Regions from separate parts of the Homo sapiens genome. Here region 1 is linked to region 2. Evidence: promoter capture Hi-C in 16 types of primary human blood cells and fetal thymus (Javierre and others, 2016). All regions are on one chromosome and are shown on one strand. Each heading gives the region's core, a stretch centred on a gene start or on the middle of the fragment in contact. The rest is flanking DNA. Distances are from core to core; before and after follow the strand shown.

Region 1 (5,232 bases), core at 961-3,460, 73 kb after region 2:
CAGTTTTTTTATACTGTGTTTTTCTGTTTTCAATATCAGGGTAATTCTGACTTTGTAAAATGAATTGGGAAGTGTTCCTTTCTGATACCATATAAATGTTAATGATCAGCTTGCCTATATCTACAAAAATTCCTGCTGGGATTTTTATTGGAATTGCATTAGATCTATAGATCAATTTGGAGAGAATTGACAATTTAACTATAGTAAATCTTCCAACCCATAAACATAGTGTGCTTTTCTGTTTATTTAGGTCTTTGATTCTTTCATCAAAGTCTGTCATATTCAGTGTAGGGCCTGCACATGTTTTCTTAGATTTATACCAGAGTCTTTTGTTGAACACACTTCCAAAGGGTATTTAAAATTTTTTGGTTTCTAATTTTTCAATTCTAGTATTTAGGAATATGGTTAACTTTTGTATGTCGACTATTATTCTGAGACTGCTAAATTTAATTATTAGTTCTAGAAGTTTTTTTTTTTATGGATTCCTTGGGATTTTCTATGAAGACAATCTCATCGTCTGTGACTAGTGCCAGTTTTTGGTCTTCCTTTCCAATCCATATGTTCCAGTATTACATCCAATAGCAATGGAGAGATCCTTGCTTGTTCTTAATCTTAGGGAGAAAGTCTTCAGTCTTTGCCATTGAATATAACATCAGCTATGGGAATTTGTAGATGCCCATTGTTAGGTTATAAACAATTCCTTTGAATTTACTGAGAATTTCTTTTTATCATGAGCAGATTTTTAATCTTTCAAATGCTTTTTATGCATTAAATGATATTATCATGTGATTTTATTAATATGGATCATGTTGACTGATTTTTGAATATTAAACTTGCCTTGCATTTACGGGTAGTCCAATTGGCCATAGTACCCTCGTTATTTTATATGTAGCTAGGTATTATTTGCTGATTGTTGAGGATTTTTGCACCTATGTTCATTAGGTATACTGAAATGTAGTTTTTTTATACTGTGTTTTTCTGTTTTCAATATCAGGGTAATTCTGGCTTTATAAAATGAATTGGGAAGTGTTCCCTTCTCTTGTGTTTTTGAAAGAAGCTGTGTAGAACTGGTGTTATTTCTCTTTTAAATGTATGGTAGAATTTGCTGGTGAAAACACTGAGCCTCAAGGTTTCTTTGTGGGCAGGTTTTTAGCTACATATTCGGTTTTTGTAATAGCTATAAATGATTTAGGCAACTTATTTCTTCTTGTTGAGTTTGGTAGTTTGTGGCTTCGAAGAAAACCGTTTGAAGGTAGTTTATGACTTTGAAGGAACAATTACTGAGAGGAGTGTTGAACTCTCTAACTATAATTGTGGATTTGGCCATTTGTCCTTTCAGATCTATGAGTTTTTCTTTCTGAATTGTGATGCTCTGTTGTAAAGTGCAAACACGTTTTGAATTGTTATGTCTCTTTTAATCATCATATCATATAATCTGTTTATTATGAGTCATTTTCCTTGCTCTAAAGTCTGTTTTCCCTGATATGAGTAGAATTACACCAGCTTTCTTTTGATTACTGTTAGGATGGTATAAATTTTTCTATCCTGTTACTTTTAACCTATCTATATCACAATATTTAATGATGGCATATAGCTTTGTTTTTATTTCTTTCCATTCTGACAATAGTGTCTATCAGTTTTTAATGTGTTTGAATTATTGATGTGTTTGAATTTAGGTTCAGGATTTTATTGTTTGTTTTCTCTTTTTTTTTACTCTTTTTTTGTTCCTCTACTTCTGTTTGCCTGCCTTTTTGTGGACAATTTGAATATATTTTAGTATTCAATTTGAGTTTATCTACTGAATTTTTTGACTCTCCTTTTTTGTCTCTCCTTTTTTTTTAGTGCTTTCAATAGGGACTGCAGTATACTTAATTAACTTTTAACAGTCTACTTAGAATTGACATTTTACTATTTCAAATGGATTATAGAAAGCTTACCTCTACGCCGTTCCCTCTATCCTTCCCTATTTTTGTTGTGGTTGTCTTATGTATTACATCTAATACAATGTCACTTTCAACCATCATACCTAAATTTAAGAACTTAAGAAGAGAACAATAATAGTGTATTATATTTACCCAAATATTTACCATTTCTGTTGCTCTTTCTTCATCCCTGAAGTTTCCTTTCATTATTTTGTTATTATTTTCCTACCATCTGAAGAAATTTTAAAAGTATTATTCTTAGAACAAGTCTGATGGCAAGAATCTGTCTTCCTTCATCTGGGAACACATTTATTTTGCCTTCATTCTGGAAGCATGTGGATATGGAATTCTGTGTGTATTTTTGTAGCACTTTAAAAATGTTGTTTCCATGACTTCTGCTTTCTTATGAGAAAATCCAAGGTTATTCAAATTGTCGTTCCCTTAAATGTAATGTGTTGTTTTTCTCTGGCTGCTTTCAAGATTTTTAAAATTTTCTTTAGTGTTCAGCAGTTTGATTGTGCTGTGTCTGGGCATAATTTTTTTTGTTTATTTTATTTGGGTTTTGCTAAGCTTCTTGAATCTTTAAGGTTATGTATTTCACCAGCTTTGAAGAAAGAAGTACTAAAAACTTCTCAAACGTTTTTTCTTTCATACCATACTCTTTCTCGTCTCCTTGGAGGATTCTAATGACAGAAATGTTAGATCCTTTGTTACACATGACCTTGAGTCTGTCTTTATTTTTAGTAATCTTTTTCCTTTTTGTTGTTCAGATTAGGCAACTTGTATTGCTCCATCTTCGTGTTCATGGACTCTCCTCTCATCTCATTCTCCTATTGTTCTCATTTAGTGAGTTTAAACAAATTTCAGTTGTTGTGTTTACTTGATTCTTTTTTATTGCTTCTATTTATTTACTGAAACTTTCTGTTTTTCATTTATTTGAAAAATGTTCACTCTTACTTCTTGGAATTGGGTTAATAACTGCTTTAAGGGTTTCGTCTGATAGTTCCAACATCTGTGACATCTCAGCATTGGCATTTGTTGGTTGTCTTTTTCCACATGAGATGTTGAGACTTCCCTGGTTCATTCTATGTTGAGCAATTTCAGGTTGTATTCTGGACATTTTGAATCTTATCTTATGAACTCTGGTCTTTGTTGTCATCTTATAGAGAATGTTAATGAATATATATATATATATCTTAAGGTAGGGAACTAGCCCACTTAGGTTCAGGTTGCAAGTTTCTGCCCATCTTCCCTGGACTCTCTGGTTCCAGTATCAGTTCAGTTTTCAAAGACTGCAGGGAGATTTGATGTGCGCTCACTTGCTTCATGCAGTAACTGGTTGTGTGTGGTGGTTTACCTCCTAGTTAGGGTCAGATGCACATACACAGTCAGAACTCAGCCCAGAGGTTAATATACAACTTTGTGGTTACATTTTCCTCAGCTTCCTCTTCTTCATCCTTTCCTTAACACTTGCTGGCTCCCAAGGGGTCCCTTCCTGCTCTGTCTAGAATTGGCGCTTTTGTTTCTCTGTTCTTCCCTGTGTCACTGGTATCTGTCTCTGGGGCCATGCAGTGAGGGGAGAAAAGGAGAAAAGAGCAATGGGAATTTTACCTACACTCTTGGGACTACAGGTCCTCTGGTCAGAGAGAAAGTTTCTCTTCACTGAGAGTTTTAGAGTCTGCCTGGCTGCTGCTGCTGTTGCTGATGCTGAGGGAATTGCCTGAAAGATGGGTTGGGAAAGAATGGGGAAACCAAACAAAGAAAATCCCAGGGGATTTCCTCCATGCTCTGTGACCTGTAAAACCTCCTTTCCTGCTCCTCAGACCAGAAACAGAGGACTTCTCTTGGAGCTCTTTCCATCATGTCTACACCTTGTGCACAGTTGCGAGTTTTAGGCTACCTGTGAGTTCACACCAGGGGATGCTGCAGAGGGGAAGCCCAGAAAGCTCACTGCCAGTTCATAGTGCTTGAGTTTGGTTTCCTTCTCGGCTACCATTTACTTTCCAGAGTCCTCCAAGAGCTGCTCCATGAGTTCTAAGTGTTTTAGTTGCATTCGGTATTCAGGGGGTGGGACAGAGCTGAGTGTGCTTACACCATTTTGAAGGGACCCAGAAGCCTGTGTGTGTGTGTGTGTGAGTGAGTGTGTGTGTGTGTTCAATATGAAACCAGAGCTTCTCAATCTCCAACGTATCTGGAGGGAAGGGAAGAAAACCAGGGAACTAACTTCACTGAGCATCAACTATGGGTCAGGCACTGTGCCTTGGAGCACAAAAGCATTCTTCTATGACTGTAGGGGGAAAGTGTGGTACTGTCAATGCCTTTTAGAGTTGGAGGAAATTAGGCTCGATGGAGTAGTTCAATGTCATCTAGGTAATAAGACAGGATGTGTACCATGATCTGTCTTAGAAAGAAAGATCCAGGAAGCTCAGTGAAAATAGAAAGAAACTGGAAGGTCCGTGTCTCATGTCTGGCTCTCCCTCTCTCTGCAGGATGGATGAGGGAGATGCTGCAATCATGCATCCCGGGGTCGTGTGCATCATGGTGAGGCTGCTGCCTCGGTTGTACCATGAAGATCACCCACAGGTACCTGGTGTTGAATATGTGTGTTTTGTCATCTTCACATGACTGATCTCTCAAATGCCTTCTGACCCAAGACAGCTTTTTTCCTTTTGTCCGTGTCTTCAGTGCCCTGCGTTAGCAGAGCTCCCCATGGGAAACACCTATAGTGGGAAAGTACCAGGGTGTCCTGGACACTTGACTGAGTTGTGCCCACCCTTGCAAGGCCATCCAAAACAGATCACTTCTGTTAACAAAGCTACCTTCTAAGAACAACAGCCAAACAAAAAAACAACTGAAAATAATTGAACCATAGTAAGGCAAGTCCCAGGTGTTAAGCTCAGCACCTGGCGTTGGTGGGAAGTCCTTTGCTCCCTGGCATGTTCATCTCTCTCCTGGATGCTGGCTGAGATCCTGGCCCTGTGCTCTGTGCAGCTCATGCACAGCTAGCAAGATGAGCATAGACACTGTCCACAGAGCCCGCCTCTATGATGGGGATGAGGAGGTAGTGACAGTGCAGACAGACTAAATAAATGAGCTCACAAGTGAATATGAAATTATGAATTGTGACGAGTGATATTACAGGGAAAAATCAGGGTGCTGAGGTAGAAGAATGAGAATGGAGGCAGGAACAGATCTCATTAAATCTAATTTAGATAAAGGGTTGGAGGTCAGGGAAGCCGTCTCTAGATGGTGACATGTAAGCAGAGACCTGAAGGGTGAGTAGCTAGTGTGAACTGGGTGGGAAGGGGCC
Region 2 (5,212 bases), core at 82-2,581:
AGGTGGGCCCTCCAGCAGACTTTGCGAGATCCCACTATGACAGACTCTCCGCGCTTCCTCTGGGCATTCACAGGCATGGGGTCCTGGCCTGTCCCATGCTGGCCACCCTTCCTGCCTCTGTGGAAGTTCCTCTGTCTAATCCGCTCTTACCATAGGCCTCTGATTTCAGGCAATATCTTCTTGTAGATTTTATTTATGATTTCATTGGTGACAATGACGAGGGGTTTTCATCATATACAACAAACACTTCACTGCAAATTCTCTAAGGTTTTCTCTTTCCCTTGGCTGGCACTGCATGTATCCTTTCAATTTCTCTTTTCTTTTCTTTTTTTTCTTTTTTTTTTTTTTGAGACGGAGCTTCGCTCTTGCTGTCCAGACTGGAGTGCAGCTGGATAGATCTCCTATTTTGGCTGCTGTCTACTGACAAGTTTGCACTGGTGGAGGTTGAGGTTTTGTGACAAATGTTATTTTCCTCTTTAAACCAATCTTGGAGCTTTACTCCATGTCATAACAAGTGATGTTGTTGCTGCCTCTCAGTCAGTCATGCATGGTCCACTGGTTTTGTGAGCTAGAGACAAGCGATGAGCTGCACTGAGGATCAAGGATCAGGCATTAGCGCTAACAAGTGCCCTTGCTCTTTGGCAAAATTCTCCTTTTACAGAGCACAAGCAGGATTGTGTGTGAATGGACATGCTTGTTTGTACTGTGGAGATGACGTTATGGATAGGTGACATGGATAATTCAGCCTAGTTTATATACTCAGAGGAATGAGAATTTGGAGTCTGAGTTTCAGAGACTTCCATTCTATGGTTTTAGATGTCCTCTCATCCTTGCCTCAGTGTTGGCCGCAGGAGGACTCCCCTCATTGGTGGTTCAAGTTCTATCTGAGGATGGGGGAGGAAGAAATCCAAGTGGGCAACTCTGAGCTTGGTGGGGTGAGGGCTGCCCAACCCATGCCATGTCCAGGGGTGCACTTAAACACACCTCTGATTAGATTCACCTAACACCATCATTGTTCTCATTTTGCCAGAGGCCCAGAGAGGAGAGGTGTGCACCAGTGGTCACACGGCTAGTGAAGAGGGGACACAGAATCCAGACCTACTCTTCTAGGGCTGGGCTGTACTTTCCATTTTGTCCTTGGCCCCAACCAGCACCGCTTGACCACGGAGGCTGCACAGCCAGCCCCAAGGGGCCTTGCTGCAGAACCCAAGTCACCCGCCAGAACTCCAGCAGCTCCGTGGTCGGCTGGAGAGTGGGCAGAGTCAGGCATCTGCCGGCTCTCCACTTCTGCTTTCTCCAGGAAATGAGCAGAGACCCAGCTCCAGTGATTCAGAGTGAAACGGCGCTGAGGACTGACGATGTGGGGCCGGGTCCTCTTCCCCCGAGCCTGAGGGGCTGCAGCTGGGGATAGGGGGCCCATGCCTTCTGATGTCTACAGGCGCTGACGGCCACCCCTCCAGGTAGGCCACCTTGCTCTTGGCCCAGCCAGGCCAGCCTAGAGGTGGGCATATGGGCGCCGCCTGTCAGCGTGGGGCCTACTGGCTGCCTCCTGGGAGGCTGACTATGGGGCACATGTGACCCAGTGCCTGGTTTGGGTTTGTGAATGTGGGAGAGGAGGTGAGCTGGGGAGCAGGAAGTGTGTGTGGCGTGGGGGGCCCATGTGGTCAGGGCCACTCCAGGGCCTGGGTCTGCCTGAGTGTGTGTCACTGCTGAAGTTTGGGAGTCAGGCTGGGCTCCAGCAGCACTCCTCGACCTCTGACGGTAGGTCAAGTCCTTTCTCGGGGTCCTGCTATGAAGGGAACCCTGGGAAGGGCTGACACGGGCTTTCCTGGTTGTCGAGGGGGCGGAGAGAGCAGGCCGACAGGACAGTGAGGCTCGCCCTCCAAGCTCCCTCATAGGCCTCTGAGGAGTGCAGAGTTGGAGGGCCATTTCCAACGGGCCTCAGAGGGAGCTGGTCTATCCCGGCCCTGTCATTACTCCACTGGGTTCTGGTAAGTAGGTGCCTCCCTGGGCTCACTTCCCTCATCTGAATTATTACAGCAAACCATTGAAACGCCTGCATTTTCTGCCTAAGCAGGGCCACCTGCTCAGTAAGGACTGATTCTTCTTTTCCCCTGAAATGAAACTTCTAGAACACTAAACCGATCCTTTGTCCCAACTCATCTAAAGTGTGGGGGGGCTGGTTTGATAACTAAGGGCTCTATGCATTACCCTTTCCATGGAGCACACTAATTTTAATATGAGTTTATGTATAGTCATTCATTTAGTTATTTAACAAATAGGTATTGAGAAACCACGCCCTGCCAGGCTCTGGTCAAAGCGGACAGGGGTCTACGGTGCTCAGCAGGTGGGAGAATAGCAGGTAGGGTGGGGGTCTTGGGAGGGTGGGGATGGCTCTAGTCTTCTGAGAGGGGACCTGTGAGGGAGGCCGAGTCCTGTGGGTTTCTGAGAAGTGTTCTTGATAAGGGTCTGGAGGAGGAGACCTCGTGGAGGTTGGTGTGGCAGAGCCGGGTAAGGGGCATGCCTGGGGTTCTGGCCAGAGAGGTAGGGAACAGGGTCAGGTCAGGGAGGCCCTTCCTGTCTGTCCATCCTGAGCACATGGGCTATTCTTTCATGAACTTGGAAAGATTTTCTGTGTTGAAAGAAAAGAAAATTTCGGCCAGGCGCAGTGGTTCACGCCTGTAATCTCAGCACTTTGGGAGGCTGAGAGGGGCAGATCACCTGAGGTCAGGAGTTCAAGACCAGTCTGGACAACACGATGAAACTCCATCTCCAAAAAAAAAAAAAAAAAAGAAGGAAAGAAAAGAAAATTTAGAAAGACCATAATAAGATAGAAGTAATAAAAACAGCATAAACCCTGTGTGCTGACACCTTAGATTTTTTTAAAGATCAGCATCATCTCTGAGGTCCTCTTCATGCCCATCTTTCACCTTCCCTCTTCAGAAGCAGCAACAGTCCAGAATTTTGGGTTTATTGTTCCCTTGCTTCTTTTTCTAATTTTACATCCCATATTTAAATCGCTATATATGTATGATTGCAAGTTGTTGAACTCTGTAAACATGGAATTAAATATTCTTTTAAAATTTGCCTAATTGGTTCAAAAGTTTGTTTCTGAAATTTCTTCATATTGTTGCATGTACCTGTAGATAATTAAAGTTTTCTGCAGTACAGTATTCTATTAGATGAGTGTACCTCAATATATTTATCTGAGATGCTGTTGATGGCATTTTAGGTATTTCAAGAGTTTATTTTTTTTTCTATTATAAGCAGTGCCGCTAGAACTATTTTTGTACATGCATCTTGGGGCATGTGTGCAAGAATTTATCTTGGGTATATACTCTAGAAATAGAATTGGTGGGTCATAGGTTGTACATATCGTCAGCCTTACTGGATGTCACCACGTTGTTTTCCAAAGTTTTTGCCTCATTTTACCCACCCCTCAGCAATGCACCAAAGTTTCTGTTGCTCCACTTCTTCATCAGCATTTGATATTGTCTGGTACTGTATTTCTGCCAATCTGGTAGAAATGAAAAGCTATCTTAGCATGTTTTTAATTTGCATTGACCAAATTACTAAGGTTGGACATCTTTTTCATATGTTTATTGGCCATTTGGGGTCCCTTTTCCTGTTCACATTTTTTGGCCATTTCTCATCGGGTTACCTGTCTTTTATCCTATTGATTTGCCATAATTCAATACATATTCTGGGTACTACTTTTTGTCATTTATATATATAACAAATATTTTTCATTTGTTGGTGCCTTGTCTCCTTATATTCCTGTGGTTTTTATTAATGACTGAATTTCTTAGTTTCAAATAAGTTTATCCACCTGTCGCTTTATGATTTATACTTGTTATGTGTTATCTAAGAAATTCTCCACTATAAGGTTGTAAAATTATTCTCATATTATTTTCAAAAAATGTTATAATATTACTTTTTACACTGAAGTCTCTAGTCTGCCTGGAAATGGCTTTTGTGTATGGCGTGAGGTGGGAAGAAACTTTATTTTATTCTGCTTTTCCCATATGGATAACCAAGAGTCTTGGCACCATTTATTTAATAGGCCATTCTTTTTTTTTTTTTTTTTTTTTGAGATGGAGTCTTGCTCTGTCACCCAGGCTGGAGTGCAATGGCATGATCTTGGCTCACTGCAACCTCCACCTCCCAGGTTCAAGCAATTATCCTGCCTCAGCCTCCCTAGTAGCTGAGATTACAGGTACATGCCACCACACCTGGCTAATTTTTTTTTTTTTTTTTTGAGACAGATTCTTGTTCTGTCACCCAGGCTGGAGTGCGGTGGTGCGATCTCAGCTCACTGCAACCTCCACCTCCCAGGTTCAAGCGATTCCTCTGCCTCAGCCTCTCCAGTAGCTGGGACTACTGGCGTGCGCCACCACATCTGTCTAATTTTTGGGTTTTTTAGTAGGGATGGGGTTTCACTGTGTTGGTCAGGCTGGTCTTGAACTCCTGACCTCAGGTGATCCACCCACCTCGGCCTCCCAAAGTGCTGGGATTACAGGCATGAGCCACCACACCCGGCCTAATAGGCCATTCTTTAGTCACTGATCCATGATAGCTCTGTTGTGAGTTGAGTTGTCATGTGCATGGGGGTCTTTCCTGGTTCTCTATTCTGTCAATTTGTCTAACCCTTTGACAATGCTAGACAACATTGTTAACCACAGGTTTATAATAAATTTCGGTATCTGGAAAGAGCCTCCCCATTCTTTTCTTCTTCCATCCTGTCTTGAGAATTCTTGGTATTTTACTCATTCATATAAATTTCAGAATTGGCTTTCAACAGAAAAAAAAACTATGTTCAGATTTGACTGGAAATATAATTTGGAAAGAAGTGATATCTTTATGAAAATGACTTTTCCAATTCATAAACGTGGTCTGTCTCTCCACTTATTTAGGTCTTCTCTAAAGTATTTAAATACAATGTTACTATTTTCTTTATAGCAGTAGTGCATATTTTGACTAGACATATCCCTAAGTGGTTTATATTTTTATATTGTGTCAATTGTCATTAAAATACATTTTTGGACTGTTGCTATTTGGACTGATTCTTGTTCAAAATGCAAGCATTTTAAACAAGAATCATTTTAGGTGTCATGTGAAGATTGTAGGAGACCAAAGGAAGAAGCAAGACTATCAGTTCAGAGGCTTTTGCAATAACCCAGGCTAGAGGTGGTGGTGGCTTGCCCCAAAGTGA

The links. The method cuts DNA at HindIII sites, captures the fragments that hold promoters and counts their contacts. A CHiCAGO score of 5 or more calls a contact.
Region 1: a fragment that was not itself captured here is called in contact with the fragment with the promoter of WDFY4 in region 2 in 1 of 17 cell types (total B cells); the score reaches 5.1 in total B cells.

Annotation. Positions count from the first base shown.
Region 1 is chr10:48,755,936-48,761,167 of GRCh38, forward strand. WDFY4 (WDFY family member 4) reads left to right here. Exons shown (of 62, transcript NM_001394531.1): 13 at 4,412-4,505. Among named protein-coding and RNA genes, the nearest start is that of WDFY4, 74 kb to the left of the region's middle. The HindIII fragment of the contact is 560 bases long and covers 1,931-2,490 here.
Region 2 is chr10:48,683,542-48,688,753 of GRCh38, forward strand. WDFY4 (WDFY family member 4) reads left to right here and starts at 1,332. Exons shown (of 62, transcript NM_001394531.1): 1 at 1,332-1,460. RefSeq lists enhancers at 254-333, 1,264-1,563, 1,582-2,122 and a silencer at 554-603. The HindIII fragment of the contact is 16,271 bases long and covers 1-5,212 here.